3 separate regions of the Homo sapiens genome follow, and all the other regions are linked to region 1. The links are contacts of gene promoters, found by promoter capture Hi-C in blood cells and fetal thymus (Javierre and others, 2016). All regions are on one chromosome and are shown on one strand. Each heading gives the region's core, a stretch centred on a gene start or on the middle of the fragment in contact. The rest is flanking DNA. Distances are from core to core; before and after follow the strand shown. Region 1 holds the start of DNAJB13 (DnaJ heat shock protein family (Hsp40) member B13). Region 2 overlaps C2CD3 (C2 domain containing 3 centriole elongation regulator). Region 3 overlaps C2CD3 (C2 domain containing 3 centriole elongation regulator).

Region 1 (4,442 bases), core at 701-3,200:
AGAGAATTACAAACAGGTAGGGAGGGGCACATCGGGGCAATATTCCTTCAACAAGGAATGTTCTAATGCTGCTCTTTTTCTTCCTAAGAAGAAAAAACAAATAGAAGTTAGCTGGGTTGAGGCGAGGGTCTGTGGTGGGTGGGGTGGGAGGTTCTGAGCAGAGGTAGCAGCAGAGGTGAATGAGGAGAGGGGATGGCTGGTTTGGGCAGTGGCAGGCACTGCAGTCCATTCTGACAAGCAGTGGGTGCGTGTAGGGCAGTGGTGAGAGCTCAGGTGGAAAGGGAGGCACCAGATCACAGAGGGCCTGTGTGCCATGGTAAGCAGTTTGGAGTTCACTCGAAGTAATGAGGAGTGTGGGCTTTGCAGAACAGAGACAAGGCAGGCAGGCCCGCGAGGAAGTTGTTGTGGTCTTGCTGAAAGATGAATCCAGAGCTGGGCCCTGATTATGAGGAGGAAGAGCAGAGGAGCTGGGCTTGAGAGGTTGTCTAGGAAGCAGAATGGACTGAGCTTGGTGACCAGTTGGATTTGGGATGTGCATGGAAAACAGGGCTCTGCTGTACTCAGAGAGGTGGAGCATAACTCCCTCACTGTAAGGGTGGGCCGCACAGTGACTGCCTTCCAAAGAGTGCAATACAGCAAGTGGGGAAGGAGGGCTGGCGCGGTGGCTCACGCCTGTAATCCCAACACTTTGGGAGGCTGAGGTGGGTGGATCACTTGAGGTCAGGAGTTTGAGACCAGCCTGGCCAACATGGTGAAACCCCGTCTCTAGTAAAAATAACAAAAATTAGCCGGGCATGGTGGCACATGCCTGTAATCTCAGCTACTTGGGAGGCTGAGGCAGGAGAATCGCTGGAACCCGGGAGGCAGAGGTTGCAGTGAGCTGAAATTGTGCCACTGCACTCCAGCCTGGGCGATGGAGTGAGACTCCATCTCAAAAAACAAAAACAAACAAACAAAAAGAAAAACACCAAACAAATTCCAATTGCAGGACATTCTACAAAACACCTGACCATTATTACTTAAACTGTCAAGGTCATCAAAAACATGGAAAGTCTGAGAAACTGTCACAGTCAGGAGGCACCAGAGGAGATGCAACAGCTAAGTGTAACGTGGCATCCTGGATGGGGTCCGGAACAGAAATAAGATATTAGGTTAAAACAACTAGTAAATCTGAATAAAATGTGGATTTTAGTTAATAATAATGTATCAATATTGGTCATTATTTGTGACAAATGTACCATACTAATGTAAGATGTTAATAATAGGGGAATGTGAATGCAGTGGCTCACACCTGTAATCCCAGCACTTTGGGAGGCCAAGCCGAGCCCAAGAGTTCAAGACCAGTCTGGGCAACATGGTGAAACCCCATCTCTACAAAACATACAAAAATTAGCCAGGCATGGTAGTGCACGCCTGTGTCTCAGCTACTTGGAAGGCTGAGGTGGAAGAATCCCTTGAGCCTGGGAGGTTGAGACTGCAGTGAGGTGTGATCCTGCCACTGCCCACCAGCCTGGGTGACAGAGTGAAGACCCTGTCTCAAAAACATGATAATGATAATAATAATAATAAAATAGGAGAATGTGGATGTGAGGTATATGGGAACTCTCTGTACTGTCTTCTCAACTTTTCTAAACTCTAAAACTGTTCTAAAATAAATGTATTTTTAAAAAATTAGCCAAATGCATTTCTTCTAAAACCTTTTTATTAAAACTAATTACTGCTCTCTTTAAAAACAAAAACAAAATAAAACAGAGCCCTGTGAGTCTTCAATTTCCGAGTTGAGTGACCTTTCACAGGGTCGCAGAATCAGCCCCAGCTCTCCCCCAGTCCTTTCACTGACTCCTCTCTGTGGCAGAGCTGAAATTTGTTTAGGGAAGTGGGACTACAACTCCCAGAGTGCACCTGTGCGGTTGTCAGGAGCAACCAAGGAAGCCAACTAACAGCCTTGCTAGAGTCTGAGGACTATCCAGGGCCTGACTGCCAGCTAGCCAGCCATGGGCCAGGATTATTACTCTGTGCTCGGGATCACTCGCAATTCAGAGGATGCCCAGATCAAGCAGGCGTAAGTTGGGGTGGGAGCCAGGCCTTAGGGGTGTGCTGGGGCAGGCCCTGCCCTCTTCTCTTCCAAAACGAGCTTTCCTGCACAGCTTAGCGCAGACAAGGTAAACCTTGTTCCTCCTTTCACTTCTTGCATACCTGTATCCTGGCTTTGGTCTGGGTCAGGGCCCAGGTTGGAAATTTGAACTCTTTAGTTCCTCAATCTGCTCCCAACCCATCTCCCTTTATGCTCCATGCCCTATATCCTCTCCTGGGTGCCTTGCTTTTCCCAGCAATGAAGTGGGGACAAAGGAGCCATTTGAACTTTATCTTGAATATTATGGAGAACCAGAGGCTTGTGAACAAGGGAGTGGCCAGGCCAGATGGATGTTTTAAATTCAATTCTGGCCATGATGGAGGTTTTCAGCATTGACTAAACTACATTCCTGAATACTTCCATCGGATCTTAAGGACGTTCTGGCTCGTTCCTAAGAAAGCCTACAACAGGAGTCAGTACATTTTTCTGAAAACATGTTTTTGTTTTTTGTTTTGAGACGGAGTCTTGGTCTTGTTGCCCAGGCTGGAGTGCAATGGCGTGATCTCGGCTCACCGCAACCTCCACCTCCTGGGTTCAAGCGATTCTTCTGCCTCAGCTTCCCAAGTAGCTGGGATTACAGGCATGCACCACCATGCCCAGCTAATTTTGTATTTTTAGTAGAGATGGGGTTTCTCCTTTTTGGTCAGGCTGGTCTCAAATTCCCGACCTCTGGTGATCCACCCGCCTCAGCCTTCCCAAGTGCTGGGATTATAGGTGTGAGTCACCGCACCTGGCCAAAAACATGTTTTTTTTTTTAACAAATATTTATTGAGCGTCTACCACAAGGGTTGAGAGGGTACTTCACTCCTGCTGCAGTGGTAGCAGCTGGAGATAAATGTCGGAATCCGACATCGACACTCCCTTACCTCATGCAGCTAGATTTTGTTGCTGAATAGATGTTGAATAAGTCACCACAACTGTGATGAGTGTTACAGAAGAGGAAGTATGGGGGGCTGTGGAAGTTATCTTGGAAGGAGAGAGACCCTTTAGGAGGCTGTTCGTGGTAATCAAGGCAAAAGATGAGGCCAGAGAAAGGGGAGGGAATGGACTTGGTAATTAAGTGGATCACTGGAGGGTGAAGAAAAGAGGAGTCCAGGATAACTCAATCAATTAAGTTAGGCAGTGACAATAGGTGTATGTTTTGAGTGTGTAGGTGCTGTTCTGAGAACTTTCCATCACTGTTTAACCCTCACAACAGCCCTGAGAATTAAGTGCCATTATTATCCCACAAGTGCACTAGTAAATGGTGGAGCCAGTGTTCAGATATCAGGCCTCCCAGAGTTGCCAGTCATGGGCCTATTCCTGGGCCAGGTCCTGTAGGGGATCAGTGGCATAAGTGGAGAGTCTGCGGTGTTGGAGAAAAAAGACACAAACTCATGAAAGGATCTGAGAACAATTCAGGACAGTGTATGATGTCACCCACTCTTCGGAGCATCTCATTGACCAGAAGGACCCATCCAGGGAAAGGTAATCAGGAGGAAGGGCAGTGGGCGTGCAGAAAGATAAGCACAGCTTAAGCACTGGAAAGGGCTGGATCAGAATCCAGATTCACTTACCTGCTAGCTGCGTGACCTGGGCAAATTACTTAACCTCTTTGAGCCGAAGTTTTCCCATGTCTAAAAATCATCATCATAATAAAGGTTGCTGTGAGATTGAAATAGGATTAGATGAGATAATGCATGTGTCCAGCAATCATTTGCATGTGAAACCATGTCATATAAAGAGTGATTAAGGCCTGGCATGGTGTTTCATGCCTGTAATCTGAGCACTTTAGGAGGCCAAAGCAGGAGGATCCCTTGGGCCCAGGAGTTTGAGAGGGCAGCCTGGGCATCATAGGGAGACCCTGTCTCTACAGAAAATTTAAAAATTAGCTGGGCATGATGGCACACACCTGTAGTCCCAGCTACTTGGGAGGCTGAGGTGGGAGGATTGCTTGAGCCCAGAAGGTAGAGGCTGCATTGAGCTATGATTGCACCACTGCACTCCAGTCTGGGCAACAGAGCAACACCTGTCTCAAAAAAATAAAAATGGCTGGGCCGGGCACCGTGGCTCATGCCTGTAATCCCAGCACTTTGGGAGGCCGAGGTAGGCGGATCACGAGGTCAGGAGATCGAGACTGTAGCAGGACGAGCCGCAGAAAAAACCTCTCAGACACCGAGTTGTAGAAGGAAGAGCTTTATTCAGCTGGGAGCATCGGCCAGCTACTGCCTTAAAATCCGAGCTCCCCGAGTGTACAATTTCTGTCCCTTTTAAGGGCTCACAACACTAAAGATTTCACATGAAAGGGTCGTGATTGATTTGAGCAAAC
Region 2 (4,442 bases), core at 831-3,330, 120 kb after region 1:
AATCCCAGGAGTAATGGCTGTTGGTAGTATAAACGGGGAGGAGTAGGAATGAGAGATAAATAATAGTTACTATGAGCACAGGTTTTGTTTCTGTTCTAAAGTAGTAAGGACACATGACACAGTTTGAGAGACACCAAAACAGAGATGACAGGAGCCAAACAGAGAGGTCAAATCTGAATCAAATGATGTATATTGAAACTTTCTGGATTCATAAGGCCATGGTTGACTGGCTCTCATAGACACCACACATCTGAACATTGTTAATCACAGCCATTTACAGATGAGAAATTCAAGACAGAGAGAAAGAATACCTTGCTCAAAGTCACACATATGTACACATACAATTTATTGGCTAGGGACACAGGGATAAATATATTCCTACTAGAATGTAATCTCCACAGGGCACAATTTTTGTCTGTCCTTTTTTTTTACTGTTTTATCCCTGGCACCAAGGACAGGGCTTAGCATGTAGCAAATACAGTAAGTTTTGTTGTAAAATAAATGAATGCATGATGAATGAACAAATGAGATGAGGTCTTTGCTTTTGAACAGTTCATATCTAGTTGAAAAGAAAACCATGGAAACAACTGCAGTACTGTGTGACATATGATATGATACAGGGGCAAAGTGCCAGGGGAGCAAATAGAAGGGGGCCTTTATATTGGGAAAGCCCTCCAGGAAATGGTGATGCCTGAGCTGGGTCTGAAGAGAGGAGCTGGAAGTAGCCAGGCAAAAGAGAAGGGTGACGGCAAAGGGGAAATTTTAGGAGATTACAATGCTGAATAAAGGTAGGGCAGGAATTCTTTGTGCCATGGACTCTGGCAATCTGGCAAGGTCTATGGGCCTCTTCTTTTAACAGTGTTTCTTTAAAATGCATAATGTAAAACACATAGGATTACAGAGAAATCCAATTATATTTACATAGAGTTATCAAAACTAAAAGAACTTTGTGATATAGTAATATATGTGCTTTAGTAACAAGGTCTAACTATAGGTAATAACTACTGTAGGTCTGGCACAGTGGCTCACGTCTGTACTCCCAGCACTTTGAGAGGCTGAGGTGGGTGGATCACTTGCGGTCAGGAGTTCGAGATCAGCCTGTCCAACATGGTGAAAACACATCTCTACTAAAAATACAAAAATTAGCCAGGAGTGGTGGCACAAGCCTGTAATCCCAGCTACTCAGGAGGCTGAGGCAGGAGAATTGCTTGAAGCTGGGAGGTGGAGGTTGCAGTGAGCCGAAATCGTGCCACTGCACTGCAGCCTGGGCGACAGAGCAAGACTTTGTTTCAAAAAAAAAAAAAAAAAAATCAAAACAAACAAAAAAACCCCCCTAACTATTGTAATTTCAAAGAAATCATAGTTATAAGTGATATTCTAAGATATCTGCAATAATGATGTGATATGGAAATACCTGTGATTTCTATTGTTGACAATATCACAGGTACTATTACTAGGATCTACTGCCTATATTCATAATGAGAGGAAATATGTTAAATTTTAGCTAGAGGTTGCTAAAAATAAAGATGTAATTATTTTCCTATCCAAGGCCACTAACCCGGAGTTTGAACTTTTCACGGATCCCTTGGATGTTTAAGGACCCAATGTTAAAAACACCTGGCCCTAGGTGCATTAGGAAGGCCTGAGTTGGCAGGAATGCAGAAGGAAGAAATCTGAGAAATTTAATAAAGAACAAGTTAGGGATCCGATGATTTGACAGTGGATAAGGAAAAGAGAAGTATCTATCTAGGTTGAGACTCAGGTGGCTGGACTGGGGAATTTACGATATGCAACAAGTTCAGAAAAGCTTTCATGTTGCTTAAACCTTTAGGCTTGAGAAATAAATATTTATCAGTTGAGATAATTAACAGATCCTGCCATGATTTGAAAGATTTGTGAAGAAAGGAGCACACCCTGAAGAGTTAGACATGCTCCTGGGTAGGTGAGGAGAGCATACCTTTCAAGCTCAAGTGCATTGCTCTTTCTACTAGGATGCTGACTGCAAACGTTCCATCCAAATCAGCAGGGCCCTCCTGCGTCAGGCGGACTTCAGCTGTGGTGCTGCTGCAGGGGACCTGGGTGGAGGCAGGAGACTTCTGGTGGCAGGAGATGACTTCTGGTGGAGAGAGCTGGACCTCATCATTCCTTCTGGGGAGCTGCTCAGACTCACTGTGGCTGCTGCAGTCCATGGAGTCCAGCTCATGAGTGGGCTCAAGGTGTGAGGAAAGAGAGGAAAGAACCACATGAACTCGCAAGGCAGCTCCTGAGAGGTTGGAAGCATTTCGTCCAAACAGAGGATACACACCTAAAAGAAGATGGAGAAGAATAAGGCTAGTCAAGCAGGAACCAAGACCAAGCTTGGAGGAAATACTCACTGAGGGTGCTGTGGTCCTTTCTCCTTTGAAAGGTCTACAAACCCCAATACAGCAATTTGCAAAAGAAACTATGAAGCTGGTAGAAAACATGAAAACTTTTACCCTGCCCTAACTATCTTCAATAATGAAAAGTAGGCTGAGTGTGGTGGCTCACACCTGTAATCCCAGCACGTTGGGAGACTGAAGTGGGCAAATTGCTTGAGTCCAGGAGTTCAAGAGTTTGGGCAACATGGTAAAACCCTATCTCTACAAAAAACACAAAAATTAGCTGAGCATGGTGGTGTGTGTCTGCAGTCCCAGCTACTCAGGAGGCTAAGGTGGGAGGATCACCTGAGCCCAGGAGGTTGAGGATGCAGTGAGCCATGACTGCGCCACTGCACTCCAGCCTGGGTGACAGAGCAAGACTCTGTCTCAAAAAACAAAACAAAATAAAACAAACAAACAAAAGTAATGAAAATAGTAAGATCTCTGATTTAAAGCCAAAGCCAAATGACTACCAGGCAGAGCTGTTGTGGAAGGGATTCATGCGCTGAGAGGCAACAAGACTTAGAGAAGTCTAAGATTTGATGAAATCAAGAGTGGTCTATTTTCTCTTCCTCGTGTCTCATGGGCTCCTGTTTTTCGACCTTCTCCCTATCAGGAGGCTGTCTTGACACTCAATTTAGCTATGTTTCACTAGGGTTCGGGCGATATTTTGGGGGGGGGTGGGGGGAAGTAGGAGGTTAGCAGGAGACCAGAAATAAATACAACGGAGTTAATATTTGTTGAGTGTTTTTCATAAGCCAGAATCTCAGAGGAGTTAAATAAACTGCCAACATCACTCTGGCAGTAAGTGGCAGATTTAAGCCCAGAGACTTGAATTTTACTAACTTGCTGAATATTAAAATGAGATTTATAAAACAGAAGGAACTAATAGTTCCTTCTGAATCTCAAAGTTTGCTTCATTAGATTCACTTCAATTCAGGAAAATGGAGTTAACTGATTCATAGATGGCAATAATATGAAACCTTTCCTGTTTTAGATAACCAGTTTTCTTCTCAAAGCAATGTGTAAATTATTATGATTATCAAAGGAAAATAAGGGCAGGTCATTACAGGTGGGAAGACACCCAAAAGCAACACAGTTAAATCCTTATCCTCAGGAAAATGAATAAAACATGGAAGTAAGGTTGGATGGATGGCTTGACGCATTCAACAAACACATCAAATGACATGCCTTGTATAAGACCCTTGCACAAGAGGATAAAAAGCTCAGACAAGAGGGATATGGAGAAGTATGAGAGAAACGGATGATCTGAAAAGCTAAATACTACCTTTGGTAGCACTCAATAAAAAGAAGTATTTGTGCTTGAGTTCCTATACTTAGATCTATATTCAGTGTCCTAAACCTACTTTCTTCAGCAGAATGAAGCTAAAAGCCTGTCTTTATAAACTTTAGTTTAAGTGAACTTGGTTCACTTCAAGGACATTTTCTGTAGTCCCTTTGAAGGGACTCTAGGCCTGCCCAGATAAAACAGAGCACATGGCATTTGATGTGCTCAAGAGAGCCAGATTTACACCTGTTAGGTCCAGAAAGAACCAGAGAATTTGGGATGATCACCTAGATACACTCAGTTCTCCTCTAGCCTGGCCCACCCACTCAACAACAGGGTCAGAGCACAGGGCTGATAGGGCTAACAAAGGGTCATGACTCAGTTTCTTCGACTGTAGAGTGGGGGAAATAACAACTAACTGGACAGCAATGTTAAGCTGAATAAAGATCATATTTGTAAAGAATCTAGTCTGGCTATCTCTAATTCATCTTAACTACAGTCACTAGCTTTATTTTTCTAAATGCAAAGCTATACACTCCTCTTGTATTCAGGAACCATTGTGCTAGTTTTCCATAATTCTCAGGAAAAAAGTCCAAACTTCAGCTGAGAAGAGAAGGCTTTCAACACAGTACTCCTGCCTACCTCCCTAGCTTCATCTCTAATCACTTCCCAATCTATGTATCCTAACATGCAGCTGTCTGAAATTACTACAGTCCCCAAAATCTATCAAACTGCCTCATTCTCCTGTACTTTGA
Region 3 (4,442 bases), core at 524-3,023, 85 kb after region 1:
ACCCATATGATAAGGCAGGGAAGATTTACACAGAAAATAGAAGCAGCAAGGTATGTTGGAAAGAGCATAGGCTTTGGAGCCGGTCAATCTTGGGTTCGAATCTCTGTTGTCACTTGTTAACTTTGTGATCATAAGCAAACCATCCTCTCTGAGCCTATTGATCTGTACAGTGTAATCAACACCACCCACTTCATAAGGTTACAGTAGAGAATACACGAAAGAAATGGGCATACACTGTGTGGTGAATATATAACCACTTAATAAACAGAAGCTACTAGTCATCTCAAATTATTTTTGGGATGGAATGGGAGTGAATCAATTAATAAATAGACCCAGTAAATGATACATGTTTGCAAGATTATTTGAGAGGAGAAAATTAGGAACTGAAGGCAAATTTGATTCCTGGGGAATAGGGGTCACATCTCCCTCACAGCACCTAACAGAGGGCTCACTCTACAGGAGGTGCTGGCTGTTTAATATTATACACTGATGATTTTCAGGCCTCAAAGGAATGGGTAGATAGACGAAAATGAAACATTACTACCTGTAAATAGGAATAGGCATGGGGAAGCATGTTTAGTTAATCCTAATCCTTTGGCCTGAACATGCTTTCTGTCTCAGAGCAGTCTTCTTGCTTTTTATAAACTTGCCCAGCCTTCAAGGCCATGTTCTATTGGATCTCCTCCAGGAGGCCTTCCCAGATTCACGAGTTAAATAAGATTGCTACATGGCTTTGTTCTATAAGGAAGCACTTAAGAATATGACACTGTGTAATTGTATGTTTACCCCATCAGACTGTGAGCTTCTCAGGGCATGAACCATATGTCTGAATCATGTTGTATCTCTAGGGCCTAGCCTAGCATATAGCTCTGGCTTAAAAAAAACCCCACTCAGTAACTCTCTCAAGTTTCACTCATATCCATTTGTCTGATGGCTTTGTAAAAACAGCATACTGAGGCATAATGGAGCATAATGGAGGCAGGGGCAGGCTTTTGCTGTTTTTTTTTTTTGAATGGTTTCCCTGATCTAATCATCTTTCTCTTTTTAAATTCATTCTCCTTGTGAAAACCAGTTCTCATTCAGTTGTCTGCTTGCTGAGAACTTTCCATTTCTTCCAGGATAAACATTAGGCCCCACAGCTTCAATTCTTTTTTTTTTGTTTGTTTTGAGTCAGAGTCTTACTCTGTTGTCCAGGCCGGGGTGCAGTGGAACAATCTCGGCTCACTGCAACCTCTGCCCCTGCATTCAAGCGATTCTCGTGTCTCAGACTCCCAAGTAGCTGGGATTATAGGTGCGCACCACCTCGTCCAGCTAAATTTTGTGTTTTTAGTAGAGATGGGGTTTTGCCATGTTGGCCAGGCTGGTTTTGAACTCCTAACCTTAAGTGATCCACTCACCCTGGCCTCCCAAAGTGCTGGGATTACAGGTGTGAGCCACCGTGCCTGGCCACAATTCCCTTCTCTCTCCTCTTTTAATATGCCCCTTTAGAAAGATTCCCCTATTTGTTTCCACCTCTACTCCAAACAAGCCTTCATCTGTTTTGCTGTCATACTTTCTTTGTGAGAGGATTTTTCTTTGGTTGACTATAGAATATAAGCTTGATGAAGGGAGATAATGCCTGTCATATCCACCACTGTATCTTCCTGGGACAAATAACAGAATAGTGCCTGGCACAGATGGTGCTCAATAAACACTTGACTGAAAATATCCAAGCAAGTGGAAGTCAAACACAGAGCATTTATCTGAGGCCATGGATACCAACAGGTTAGGTATCTGGAAGAAGAAGACAGAAAGAAGGTTTGTACTTAGTGTTAATCAAGGTGTTTTTCTCTCCTGTTAGACAAAGAAAATTGAACTTCTTCATCCCTGTGTAGAATCTACACATTTCGCTCAAGCAAAAACAAGTGAGGGCTGAAGATGCTGATCTAGTTGATTTCCCAGTGTTCCCTGAAGCTTGCTTGATAAAGATTTCTAGGTCATGACCCTGGATCCTGATTCAGAAGGATGGAGTAGGACCCAGGAATCTCTATTTCACAGTAAGTGCCCCGGGTGATTCTTATGCTCAGGCAGGTTTGCCAATATTTGCTCTAGAGCAGTCTCAGTCTTGTCTACACACTAGAATTACCTGGGGAGTTAGAAACAATACTGATGCCTGGGTTCCACCTCAGAGATTCTGTTGACCTACAGTACAGCCTGGGCATGGGGTTTTTTAAAAGTCCCTCAATAATTCCAATATGCAGCTAAAGTGAGAACCACTGCTCCAAAGGGGTTTTTCAAAGGGTGGACTATGAATCGCTAACATCCAGAATCATCTAGGGTGCTTGTTAAAAGTGCAGACTTCTGGGCTTTCATAATTAGAATTTTAAATATGTTTATTGTTCATTATTTTCTCAGAGAGTGGCACAAGTTCAAGAATTGCTATTGAGGAACCACTCATCTAATCTACCCCACTCTTTTCTTGGCTGGGGAAACTGAAGTCTAAGAAGGGAAAGGACACGTTCAGAGTCAGACTCTAAGTCTGTACCAGAAGCCCATCAAGGACCTGGGTCAGTCCAGTGCTCTTTCCATTGCCCCATGTTGCTGTGCCATACTATTATGTCCCTCCTTTTCAAACGCAAGATGGTTAAAAAAAAAAAAAAAGGAAGAGGGTGAAAACAATTGGTCTCTATTTGTCATAGGGGCTTGTCCGAAGGAACACATTCAAATGCTTTTTGAATTAGCACCTAGTGACCATAACATCTCAACAAGAAAGGATCTGAGTCATACCTGTGATTAAGGAGCTGACTTGCAACACCAGGTTACTGGATTTCTCCAGGATACACTGGCTCCCAGGGTCTAGGCTGCTGGCACCTGGCCCAAGATGGTCCCTACAGCTCTCCTGGTGCTGTGAGATGGCCGTTTGAGTCTGAGGGCTGAGGGGTAGGAAAGGCTTGGTGAGCTTCTGGCGGAAGTACCTCTGAATCTGATCAAGCTCACTCAGATTCTTCCTATAAACAAAAGGGGGAGAAGAAGACAAAGGGGTAATTCATGGAGATTATGAACATCTCTTATGTCCCCTGGACACTACCGCTTGAGCCAAAGCCTTAATACCTCTCACTTGGTCTATTAATATACTAAGTCCCTCTCTCTCCAATCCACCAACTCATCCTTCACTCCTCTGACTACAATCCTGCTGCTGGGGGCAACTTTCTCCCCCTTTTGTCTGTCTAATGCGATTCCTCATCTGATGTCCAGCAAAAATGCCACTTCCTCAGAAAGGAACCATTCTTGACCACCATTCCAGTCCTTATTTCTGTTTACTTTGACAGAATAAAGCCCTACTCTGCGCTAACACTGTCCTTTGCTACCTCATAACCATTCCTGATCCTTCAGGCAAGCAACTTCTAAAAAGCCTTCCCTAAATTGGTTTAGGGGCTCCTCTTCTGTGCTCCATAGTTCTTTCTGCACTCTTCCATCACATCACTCATTTATTTAACACCTATTTCCCCTGATGTACGGTCAGCTCTGGGCTGATTCCTTTACATCTACTGCACCCAGCATAGTGCTTGGCACAAAACAAAAGAATGCTGGATGGATAAAAGGACATAAATAAGTGATTTTAAAAATCTGTTTAAAAGCCTTTAATAGGGCCACATTCTCACCATTCTCCAATAAGAAATCACACCAACCTTCACTTGCATAGGATTTTATGTTTATGCTTTTAAACATATTATCTTGTTTAATTTTCAGCTAATCATATGAGATCAGTAATTATAAATAAGCAACTTGAGTTTCAGAGAAGTTAAGTGACTTGTCCAGAGCAGGGAGCAGTATGTAGCTACTCAGAATCTGGGACTCCAAGTCATGCTTTTTCCATATGAGATGGACTCTGTTCCAGCTGGGTTCGTTCCTTCCTCATACTTCTGCTGATACTGGAACCCCAGTTCAAGCAACTCCCTGCTCTGTTTCTATTCCAGTCAGCTTTTAAGGTTGCAGCTCACATTTCTTCTTTTCAAAGTCCATTATCCCAAATCTTTGCACCACCTGTCCCTTAAACACCTTCACACTCATCATTTCACACATCAAACTTTTTCTTAGATTTTCCCTTAATTGTCTCATTATATGTTAGTTCAGTTTCCCTAAGTAGGCCATGGGCGTCTCAGAATAGAAGATATATCTCACACTTCTCTATTTCCTTAGTACACTCAATGTGCCTGGTATAATCAACACAGCATGGACACCAAATACCTGTGACATGAACTGAAAGTCTTTCTATCCTTTTGTTAGAAACAGTCTGCGTATCTTAGAGGAAAATCCAAATGAGAGGACAAAGTTGATCCTTATTCTATCACTAGAGGCCAAGACTCAAGTCACGGTGGTGTGTACCAAATCACTTAGGTGTCTATATCGTGGTATATGCCACATGGATAAACATCTGCAGGAGGAACATGCAAACAAATGTA

The links. Contacts are between HindIII fragments. The CHiCAGO score rates a contact against its expected background, and 5 or more counts as called.
Region 2: a fragment that was not itself captured here is called in contact with the fragment with the promoter of DNAJB13 in region 1 in 2 of 17 cell types (non-activated CD4 T cells and naive B cells); the score reaches 5.5 in non-activated CD4 T cells.
Region 3: a fragment that was not itself captured here is called in contact with the fragment with the promoter of DNAJB13 in region 1 in 4 of 17 cell types (non-activated CD4 T cells, naive B cells, total CD8 T cells and 1 more); the score reaches 5.9 in non-activated CD4 T cells.

The regions. Positions count from the first base shown.
Region 1 is chr11:73,949,076-73,953,517 of GRCh38, forward strand. DNAJB13 (DnaJ heat shock protein family (Hsp40) member B13) reads left to right here and starts at 1,951. Exons shown (of 8, transcript NM_153614.4): 1 at 1,951-2,062. The coding sequence starts at 1,995. The HindIII fragment of the contact is 10,163 bases long and covers 1-4,442 here.
Region 2 is chr11:74,072,296-74,076,737 of GRCh38, forward strand. C2CD3 (C2 domain containing 3 centriole elongation regulator) reads right to left here. Exons shown (of 33, transcript NM_001286577.2): 24 at 1,958-2,305. Among named protein-coding and RNA genes, the nearest start is that of UCP3, 65 kb to the left of the region's middle. RefSeq lists an enhancer at 276-345. The HindIII fragment of the contact is 550 bases long and covers 1,806-2,355 here.
Region 3 is chr11:74,034,712-74,039,153 of GRCh38, forward strand. It overlaps C2CD3 (C2 domain containing 3 centriole elongation regulator), which reads right to left. Exons shown (of 33, transcript NM_001286577.2): 30 at 2,767-2,987. Among named protein-coding and RNA genes, the nearest start is that of UCP3, 28 kb to the left of the region's middle. RefSeq lists an enhancer at 1,940-3,139. The HindIII fragment of the contact is 356 bases long and covers 1,596-1,951 here.